Regions from separate parts of the Homo sapiens genome. Here region 1 is linked to region 2. Evidence: promoter capture Hi-C in human tissues and cell types (Jung and others, 2019). All regions are on one chromosome and are shown on one strand. The core of a region is centred on a gene start or on the middle of the fragment in contact, and the rest is flanking DNA. Distances in the headings are between cores, read along the strand shown. Region 1 has its middle 3.5 kb from the start of LINC01925. Region 2 holds the start of YES1 (YES proto-oncogene 1, Src family tyrosine kinase).

Region 1 (4,789 bases), core at 1,889-4,388, 290 kb before region 2:
CAGATAAGGGGAAACTGAGGACTGAACTCCAATCACCATTCTTTGTTCTAAATTTTTCCTGAGAGGCTTAGAGGGAGTCACACCCATTAGCCAGAGCTAACATTCTTTTCCGCCAACCCTAAATTTTTGCATAAAACGTCTCCTCTCTTTGCATCTATGACCTGTAAGTCCCTACTTCAAGATATCCTGCCCTTTCAAGCCAAAACCAAAGTGTAGCCTCCGTGTACTGATGTACGATTTTGTCTGTAACTGCTGTTTTCCTGAAATTTACCCCTGCCTTTAAAAACCCTGACCTCCAAGCCATCAGGAATGTCAGGATTTGAGGATTAGCTGTTTGGTCCTCCTTGCTTAGAGCCCCTGCAAATAAATGCCTTTCCTTCTACCGCTGCACAGCCTCAGTGTGAATATCTGGTTTTACTGCGCCAGGCAAGCAGACCCCTGTTCGCTTCTATTACATGTCCACCATCTGAATCCCCCTACTATGTTTTGGTAATTTCCCATCACAGGAGTATTGATGAGAGGCAGATGTATCCTCCCACTAGAGAAGCAAAACAGCTAGATATTTGCTGTCTCCACTTATCAAAGTATAGAATTTTAAGTTGCCAGTTATTACCTCGCAACACATTTAGCTTCTGACATGTATTGTTGCTGAAGAAAAGTCCGATATGAATCAGACCTTCCAGTGGGACAAGATGTGGAGATGGAAGACAATATTGATGATCCTGACCCTGTGTAGGTCTAGGCTACACTTTTGACAGCTGGTGTCAAAAGTATTGCGTGACTGTGTGTATGTCTTTGTTTTTAACAAAAAAGCTTAAAAAGTAAACAAAATAAAAATTTAAAAATATAAAAAGGCCTATAGAATAGAGATATAAAAAGAAAATATTTGTGTACAGCTGTACAAGATTTATGTTTTAAGCCAAGTGATTTACAAGAGTCAAAAAGTTAAAAACAATTAAAAAGTTTTATAAAAAGTTATAGTAAACTAAGGTTAACTTATTATTATGAAGAAAGACAAAAATTTTAAATAAATTTAGTGTAGCCTAAGCATACAATATTTATAAAGTCTACAGGAATATGTAGTAATGTCCTAGGCTTTCACATTCACTCACCACTCACTCACTGACTCACCCAGAGCCACTTCCAGTCCTGCAAGCTTTATTCATGTTAAGTAACCTATTCAGGTGTACCATTTAAAAAAAAATCTTTTATATTGTATGAAAGTATAAAAATATATACTTCTATATATTTTTAACTTTTTCTGTCTTTAGATATATTTAGATACAAATACCACTGTGTTAAAATTGCCTACAGTATTCGGTACAGTAACATGCTGTTCAGGTTTGTAACCTGGGAACCATAAGCTATACCATATAGCCTGTGTGTGTAGTAGGCTATACCATCTAGAATTGTGTAAGTACACTCTATGATGACCTCACAATGACAAAATCTCCTAAGGATGTGTCTCTTTTTTTTTTTTTGAGAAGGAGTCTCGCTTTGTCGCCCAGGCTGGAGTGCAGTGGCGCAATCTCGGCTCACTGCAAGCTCCGCCTCCCGGGTTCACGCCATTCTCCTGCCTCAGCCTCCCGAGTAGCTGGGACTACAGGCGCCCGCCACCATGCCCGGCTAATTTTTTTGTATTTTTTAGTGGAGACAGGGTTTCACCGTGTTAGCCAGGATGGTCTCGATCTCCTGACCTCATGATCCACCCACCTCGGCCTCCCAAAGTGCTGGGATTACAGGCGTGAGCCACAGAACCTGGCCCAAGGATGCGTTTCTTAAAGCATACCCCCTTCACTAAGCTCCAAGTGACTGTATATTTTCACACCTTTATTTTGGCCTCATGCTGGGTGGAGTCATTTCCTGCTTCTCGGCTTTGGGCTTGTCCATATTACTTGCTTTGACCATCATGATATTGTGAAATACACATTTGGTCTTCATCCTGTTTCCTAGCATACAGCTGCTAAAATCCCTGGAATCTCTGGAGTGATAAGAGTATCTTTTGTATGCAAATGAGATGACTGGTGGCTGGGGGCCCCTGGGTAGCTTCAGGATAGGGGCTGGTCACCAGAAAGACCAAGACAGGATTACAGGGTTGGGACATTGAGCCCTACTTCCAATCTCTGGGCAGGCGAGAGGGGCTGAAGGTTAAGTTGATCACCAGTGGCCAATGATTTAAGCAATTGTGCCTAGGTGATGACGCCTCCATAAAAACCCAAAAAGCGGGTGGGTTGGGGATGCGTGATGGGGGAGGTTCCAGATAGCTGAACATTTGGAGGTTCCTGCAGGGCAGTGCCCTGGAGAGGGCATGGAAGCTCCGGGCTCCTACTCACGTGCCTTGCCCTGTGAATCTCTTGCATCTGGTTGTTCATCTGTAGCCTTGTCCTATTCTTTACAATAAACTGGTAAGTGTGAGTAAAGTGTTTCCCCGAGTTCTGTAAGCAGCTCTAGCAAATTAATAAAACCTGAGGAAGAGGGCACGGGAACCCTGATTTATAGCTGATAGGTCAGAAGCACTGGCTACGTCTGGGGCTTGCGATTGGCTTCTGAAGTTGGGGGCAGTCCTGCGGGACTGAGTCCCCAACCCGTGGGATCTATTGCTATCTTGGTAGAAAATGTCAGAATTGAATTAAATTAGAGGAAACCTAGCTAGTGTCCGCTGGAGAATCTGCTGAAGAATTGGTTGCTTGGTGTGTGAGGAAAATCCCCCACATATCTGGTGTCAAAAGTGTTGAGTCACTGTGTGAGAGTAGAGAGGAGGAAACAGCTTGGTTTTCTTCTGTCTCACAGGCCTATTTGGAGCGACGTGAAATATGCCTTGCTGTTGGGCTCTCCCTCCTGTTCTCTGATGATCTGTCACGAGGGGGATATGAACAACTGCTGTCCCCAGAGCCTGGGCCCCCGAATGAGAAATGTGAAGCAGACCACGTGGCCTGGTAGCATTTGGTCCCAGAGGGATGAGACAGACACCCATGGGCCAGAATTGAAGCCAACCTGGGGCCTAGGGCCTACAGCCCAGAGGCTGTGCTAAAGCCTGGAGTCCAGCCAAACCCAGCGAAGTGACAGCCTGCCAGCAGCCCCATGTTCCTGAGAGTAAACAGTTATAACAGTTGAAGCTTCTGAATTTTGTTACACAGCGTTGTTGTGGCCATAGCCAACTAATGCCTTATACTTTATTTAGTTTTCTTCATGTTTGGAGATATTTGGTTTGCAGGTTTATTTTGAATGTGAGAGTTTTTGTTTGTTTCCTCTTCTCTGTGCTTATCACTGCCTGTTAGTACATTTCAGAAACCTTCCTGCAGGCCTCCTGGGCCTTGTGTCCAGAGCTAAGTCTTACGTGGATTCTTCATGTCCTATCGCCGGTTATAGAGGGAATAGTCCTCCAGCCAGAGTGTGTGTTGGCCCAAGTACTGGGTGTGAGCTGTGTTTGCATCTTTCTCTCTCTCTAGGTATGAAGCTCACATAGGTGGAGGCCCAGGTGGCAGGTGGTTGAAGCTTGAAGCTTTTCTCAGTTTCCATTGATGCAGGAGTAAGGGTCAGCTTGGCTCGCTTAGTTTCTGCCTTGCCTAGGGTTCTTTTAGTCCTCATCACCCCACAGGACACCAACTCCATGTCCACCTAGTTCCACACCTGGACGCAGCAGGTCACAGCTTCAGTCTTGCTTGTCTTTCTCTTCTGTATGTAGTCCAATGCTCTGTTCACCTTGCTTTTTTTCTTTTGAGACAGAGTCTCACTCTGTCGCCCAGGCTGGAGTGCAGGGGCACAATCTCGGCTCACTGCAAGCTCCGCCTCCCGGGTTCACGCCATTCTCCTGCCTCAGCCTCCTGAGTAGCTGGGACTACAGGCGCCCGCCACCACACCCGGCTAATTGTTTGTATTTTTAGTAGAGACGGGGTTTCACCGTGTTAGCCAGGATGGTCTCGATCTCCTGATCTCGTGATCCACCCACCTTGGCCTCCCAAAGTGCTGGGATTACAGGCGTGAGTCACTTTCCTTCTGAGATGTAAATGTCTTTTCAGTTTTTCTGAGTATATTTTCGCCGTCAGGTTGTGTGTTTCAGGTGGAAAGGGGGAGTGTATTGCATGAACTCATGAACTCACAATGCTATTCCAACCAGAATTCCCCTGGAATTTCTACTTGCAGGTTCACCAAACACTTGAATTTCATATACTCAAAACAAAACTGAAATTCTAATCATGTCTTTCCATAAAACCACTACTTTCTGGATTCTGTATTCTGGTTAATATTCCCATCCTCTTTTCATTTGCTGAAGTCAGAATCCTCATTTATTCTTTTCTCTCACCTTCCATATGTATCTGCATCCCATTTGACCACCAACTCCCCTCCACGCACGTGTTCATCCCATCTGTGAAGTAAGTTCATGCACATCTTATTCTATGAGTCCACAGCCTGAAAGTTCTCAGCTACAGAAAAAGTCCAAAGCCCTTTGTGTGGCATAGAGGGAAGGACAGGCACGGTTGTGGCCTGATTCTCTCTCAGCCTCAACTCTGGCTATCTTGCCCTTGGCTTTAACAAAACAAATCTATTGACAATTTCCGAGCTCTATCAGCCTGTTTCTGGCTCTAGTCCCCATTCCTCCCCTGCCCATGGCTCATCTGGCAAATGTTCAAGACTCAGAAACCACCTATTCAGAAAATAATTTCCATGAACTGCCTCCAATTGACTGATCCCTCATCCTTCATTTGCTTTTTTGTTTTATTTACTTATTATTTATTTATTTTTTGAGACAGGGTCTTGCTCTGTTGCCCAGGCTGGAGTGCAGTTGTGC
Region 2 (5,303 bases), core at 2,781-5,280:
TTGGCATACAGACATGTGAAAACGATATTGGCGGCAGCACTGGCTCTTCTCTTTCACCCTCTACTGTTACTATAGCTCCTTTTGCTAAATCTGCCTCTGAGTTTAGACAGGAGCTGGATGGTTAGTAATCACCCAGCAGCTGCAGCTGAGCAATACTCAGCCTAATTGTGGCACTGGAGCAGCTGAGAGGAAGAAAAGAGATAATACATACCCTACCATAGCCATACACGAACTACCAATAAGACAAGACACTTTAATAGAAACAGATTATTTCCTTTAAAGAAAAGCAGTTGTGCCTCGCTATAGGACTTATATTATAAAACTGTTTAAATGTGAACTGAAGGTGACCTAAGCCATGTAGGGTTCTAAACAATGGAAGATCTTACTAAAACTTCCTGTAAATATTCACACAACAAAGCGTGCACCACAAACATCACCTTTATAACATGACTGAAAGTTCCTGTGATATAAAAATTTGGCACAGATGAGATCTCTTCTTCAACTCTACAACAATGCAAAGCCACAATATCAACCACTAAAATAGCAAGCCATTACATAAAGCAAATAAAATAGCATGACCCAATGATTCTCTGCATTTCTGAAACTCCAACACCATATTGTCATTTGCCTTTTGAACCAAAACATATTCATCCTTCAGGTGCTGTGAATCTTCATAAACTTTAAACAAAAACTTATTTTATGCTGAGATTTCATGGCATTCTTAAGAATAGAAAAACTAAGGCTGAAATTACTGATCTAAAGAATTACTGTTCTAGAAAACCGAAAATAGATAAAAGTCAAAACTTAGGATCTTGATGCCGTAATTGAGTTTTGAGTTTTAATTGTCATGTTATGTAATTTTCAGAAAAACAGAGTATTTGATGACAGAACAGTATCCATTCGTTCAATAAACATTTTGATTATCTTCTATTGGTTATTTACAACATACAAGCCGAAGCGGATTTTAATTTTGTAAAACCTGTGTCTTCTGTGAAAATATTAAAACAATTAAGTTATTAAAGAAAACGAACTAGAACTTTATTTAGAAATTTTTTCCCAAAAATTCTCTAATTATTGTACATTTCGGAGTATTTGACTTTTTTTTTTGGAGACAGTCTCACTCTGTTGCCCAGGCTGCAATGCACTGGCACTATCTTAGCTCACCGCAATCTCTGTCTCCCGGGTTCAAGCGATTCTCGTGCCTCAGCCTCCCAGGTAGCTGGGATTACAGGGGCGCGCCACCACACCCAGATAATTTTTGTACTTTTTAGTAGAGATGGGGTTTCACCACGTTGGCCAGGCTGGTCTCAAACTGCTGGCCTCAAGTGATCCCCTTCCCTCTGCCTCCTAAAGTGCTGGGATTACAGGTGTGAGCCACCGTGCCCAGCCTGACGTGTTCAAAGTAGTTATACATACAGCTGGTATATGACAATTATGATTTAATAAATCTAATCCTATTTGCAAAGGATAGCCTAGGTAGTGTTCGAAAGTCAGCCACCAAGTTATGTTCTTAAACCAAGCACCTTATATAGACATTACACACTGGATTCCTTAAAAAAACAACAACAAATTCATGTAAAATAAAACATAGAAACAGATTCTGCACACAAACGTAGGGCTTAATGAATTACACTAAGACCAATACCCTTGGTAACTCCTACCAGGTTAAAAGAACTTTGTCACCACTTCAGAAGCCAGGTCCCTATCACAATCTCCTCCCTCTTCCCATATATTTCCCTTCATAGAACCACAGGTATTCTATGCTTCTATTTTTACGTTCACAGAATTTCCTTGCAGGTTTTTTTTTTTTTTTAATTACCCAAGTTTGGGTGACCCCAGCGCTTAGCATCACTTAAAAAATTGTTTTGGCATTAGTCTTCTTTCTTACTATAATGCTAATAGAATAAACGATGTCTACACTGATTTTGTAAAGAAAAACTAGCCATAGTAGTAAATCATTTACTGTCTAACATGATGCAAATTTCAACTTTGAATAAGTAAGTCTTACACCATCGGTTGGTAATATTTCACTTATACAGGTTTACTTCTAGTCTTTTAGCACATTTATTCTTTTATCAATACATACCATGAAGAAATTTTACTTGCATAGACATTAATTTTTCAGCTTGTGAATTTCCTGAACTAAAACACACACACAAAAACAGCCCATGTATTAATATTATACTTCGACCACAAGACAAATTCCACCTAACCCAGGAAGACAGGTCAAAGCTGTAATTTCACTTTCAGATGAACAGAAAGGAATCAATTTTGTGGTTTATGAAGTCAGCAAAACCTAACTACGAAATTAAAGCCATTATAACATTACAGTGGTTACAACAGAGTATATATTTTAAGAGCCCTTTTATCTTTTATCCTGGAAACATGGATATAAACTGTTTTGTTTTCAGATCAAAGGCAATTGTCTTTTTCAAATGTAGGACCCTCTGAATTGTCAACCAGCATTTAAAATCTCCACCGACTTTTAGCTAATGTCCAAAAATAAAAATACAATTTAACTTCCTTTCCTTACATGTCAATTGTGGCAGGGGTCTCACACTTATAAGCAAACAAACAAAAACCAAAAAACCATATATATTATTTGCTAAAGTAAAACTTTCTTACTGTACAATATATGAACATCGTAAGTGATGCATACAAGATCCTTGGCTAATACAAGATACTCCTTTATTACCTGACCATTCAAAATGCTTCCTGTCCACCGTGTGCCAAGCACTGTGATAGTTAAGATATTAGATTTACCATGCACTTTTCCTTAAATGCACAGTCACGTGTATACATTTAGTAATACTTTCCTTAGTGCGTAATTTAACTTTAGAAGTGTAACAGGATGGTTTAAATATTTAAAATTATCAAGGTATCTTTGGCACTGTAATCTTACAGTTATAATACATGAAGATACTATAATCATATCATGTGAAATCGACTGTGAAAACACACACCCGTGGAACGTATATACATAATAAATGGACATAAAATTGTGCTTCCACCAAAGACTTTCATTATTTCCTTTAGTAATTTATAATTATACAGTATGTTATTCCACGCCTGTATCAATTAATTATGCAGAAAATGATTCAACCAAATCCGAACTGTTAAGTCCTACTCATTACAAAACAAAAACTAAAGTCCCTACACCAGACTTGATTTTCAAAGAGCTTCTTAAAACAGCTCTGCCCCATGCCCAATAAAGTGAAAGCTGGAAGCAATTATCAAGAAGAAAAACACACTTTAAGACAATTTTCTTTAACACATGTGGACAGGGAACCGAACGCAACGGGAGGCGGAGTGGCATGATTCCGTAAAAGTGGACGCTGAATGGTAAATTTCCCAACCCCCAACCCAAAACAAAGGAAAACTTTAAACATGTTGCGGTTTTCAATCAAACCAAGTAAAGCCAGAAAGGCTCATCCACTCGCCCCACACACCCGCTCCTCTCCCCGCACAGCTGCTACCGGCGTCGGCCGATACACAGACCCCCAGCCTTTAGGACCCAAAGGGGCCGCTTCCCTCGCCCCTACTTCGGCCGTAGGGGCAAAAATAAACCTCTCCTCCCCGTCGCCGGGCGGTCCACACGACCCCAAAGACAAGGGGTGGGGAGTGTCCCCACGCCCCTGGAACCTCAGGTCGGACTTGGGCGGGACCCGGCAGGTCTGGACAGGGCAGAGACCGAGTCAGGGGCGAGCAGGTAGCGCGGGGAACGAGACAAGCCCGCCGGGCGATCCGGGGGAGGGGAGAAGTTTCTTCCCAACTTCCCGACTCGGGCCCGCGGGGGCGGGGAACCGCGGCGGCGGCGGCGGCGGCGGCTCCGGGCGCTGGGGCCTAGCCCTGTCCGGGCAGAGGTGGAACCCTCCGCCCGCGGGGCCCCACCGGGTCCTTACCTGTCCTCCGGCCGCGCTCTCATGAGTCGCTGCTACCGCAGCTCGAGGTGGCGGAGGGCGGAGGCGAGGCCCGCGGGCCCTCTCCCTCCTCCACCTCCTCGTCCCGGGGCGCCCGGCGGCAGCAACGACGGCAGAGCCGGCCCGGGACGCGTTACTTCAGGAGGAGGGAGTTCCCGGGCTCCCCACGCCTCGGCCTCACTCTCCACCTCCTCCGCCCCCCCCCCCCGGCCCCGCCCCCTGACTTCTAGCGGGGGCGGGGGCTGCGGGTACCTGCGCGCGCCGCCGTCCGCTCACCGGAACTCGGGCCACGCCGGCCCGGCTCCGGGGCCCCCAGCCTTCCGGCGCCTACGCCCCCGTCAGGTCCCCTCCGCGGGCTCCGGGCCGCTTTGCTGTGGTCAGGATAGGCGACCGGTCCGTGTCACTTCTCCCGACCCAACATGGCGGCGGGGTCCGGGGCGGATTCCCGGGGGCGGTGCAGGCCGAGGGGGCGTGAGGAGGAGGTGCTTCCCTGCCCGGAGAGCAGGCCCGCGGCGTCCCTTCCCACCCGCGAACCCACCGACGCTCGGCTGCCGCGGAGATTGAATGGAGCGCTCCGATTCTGCCCCTCTGCCTTTCTCTGTTCCTTGGCCCAGCTCTCAGTAGTGGCCAGGGCTTTGGGGCTTGCTTTTGTGGGGGAGGACGGGGTTGAGTTTTTTTGGTTGGCTGTTTGCTTCTCAGCGCTACGCTTCCGCACCCTTTGTCGTTGGTAGTAAAATCTCAAGCCCAACCGCGTGAGCCGGGGGCGTTACTCACACCCTCATCACCATCCTGATCGCCGTCCAAAAAACGTTCACGTCTTGCCTCCTTCCGAGGCAGGGATCCTGTCCCTGCCCCCAGGAGCTTCCTGTTGACTGTAGGTCGAACCAGCCTTGCCGGGAGGGGAACCGAAGCTGAGTTCTGTTTGGCGACTATCCCAGTCATGGTGGCTTTGGCTTATGTTGGGACAGCGTTTTTCTATATGATGCTGGCGGCAGCCCAGTGAGGGAAGTGCAACAAGTATGGTTCTCCTGCTTGTCAACTGTGGAAACAGCGACCCTGAAAGTGGAGGAGCCACAGCTGGAATCGTGTCCGTCTGAATACACGCACCTTTCCTATGAGCCTTGTAAAGCCAGTCGTTGAAGAAGGGGGAGGACCCGGAAGGATGGGGTGGGGGCGTAAAGATGAAGGTTAATCAAGGTCCTCATGGACTGAACCTTGAGGCCCTTCTGCTGCAGTCACTTTTGCCCTATCAGACTTTTAGAGTAACTTCCTCTCTTTATTTCCTCTTTGGTGGGGTTATCAGAATTATTTTGTGACTATTGGTTTCCTTTGCGGTTTTTAGTGAAATTCAGAATCATCTTCGACGGATAGGAAATAGTGCAA

Evidence for each region. Contacts are between HindIII fragments. The study calls those that stand out against the background at their distance.
Region 1: a fragment that was not itself captured here is called in contact with the fragment with the promoter of YES1 in region 2 in 1 of the 25 tissues and cell types used here (hippocampus).

What each region holds. Positions count from the first base shown.
Region 1 is chr18:516,363-521,151 of GRCh38, forward strand. No RefSeq gene overlaps it. Among named protein-coding and RNA genes, the nearest start is that of LINC01925, 3.5 kb to the left of the region's middle. RefSeq lists an enhancer at 2,475-2,674. The HindIII fragment of the contact is 4,309 bases long and covers 985-4,789 here.
Region 2 is chr18:808,212-813,514 of GRCh38, forward strand. YES1 (YES proto-oncogene 1, Src family tyrosine kinase) reads right to left here and starts at 4,031. Exons shown (of 12, transcript NM_005433.4): 1 at 3,903-4,031. RefSeq lists silencers at 3,638-3,727, 3,798-3,857, 3,908-4,417 and enhancers at 4,149-4,691, 4,692-5,233. The HindIII fragment of the contact is 17,179 bases long and covers 1-5,303 here.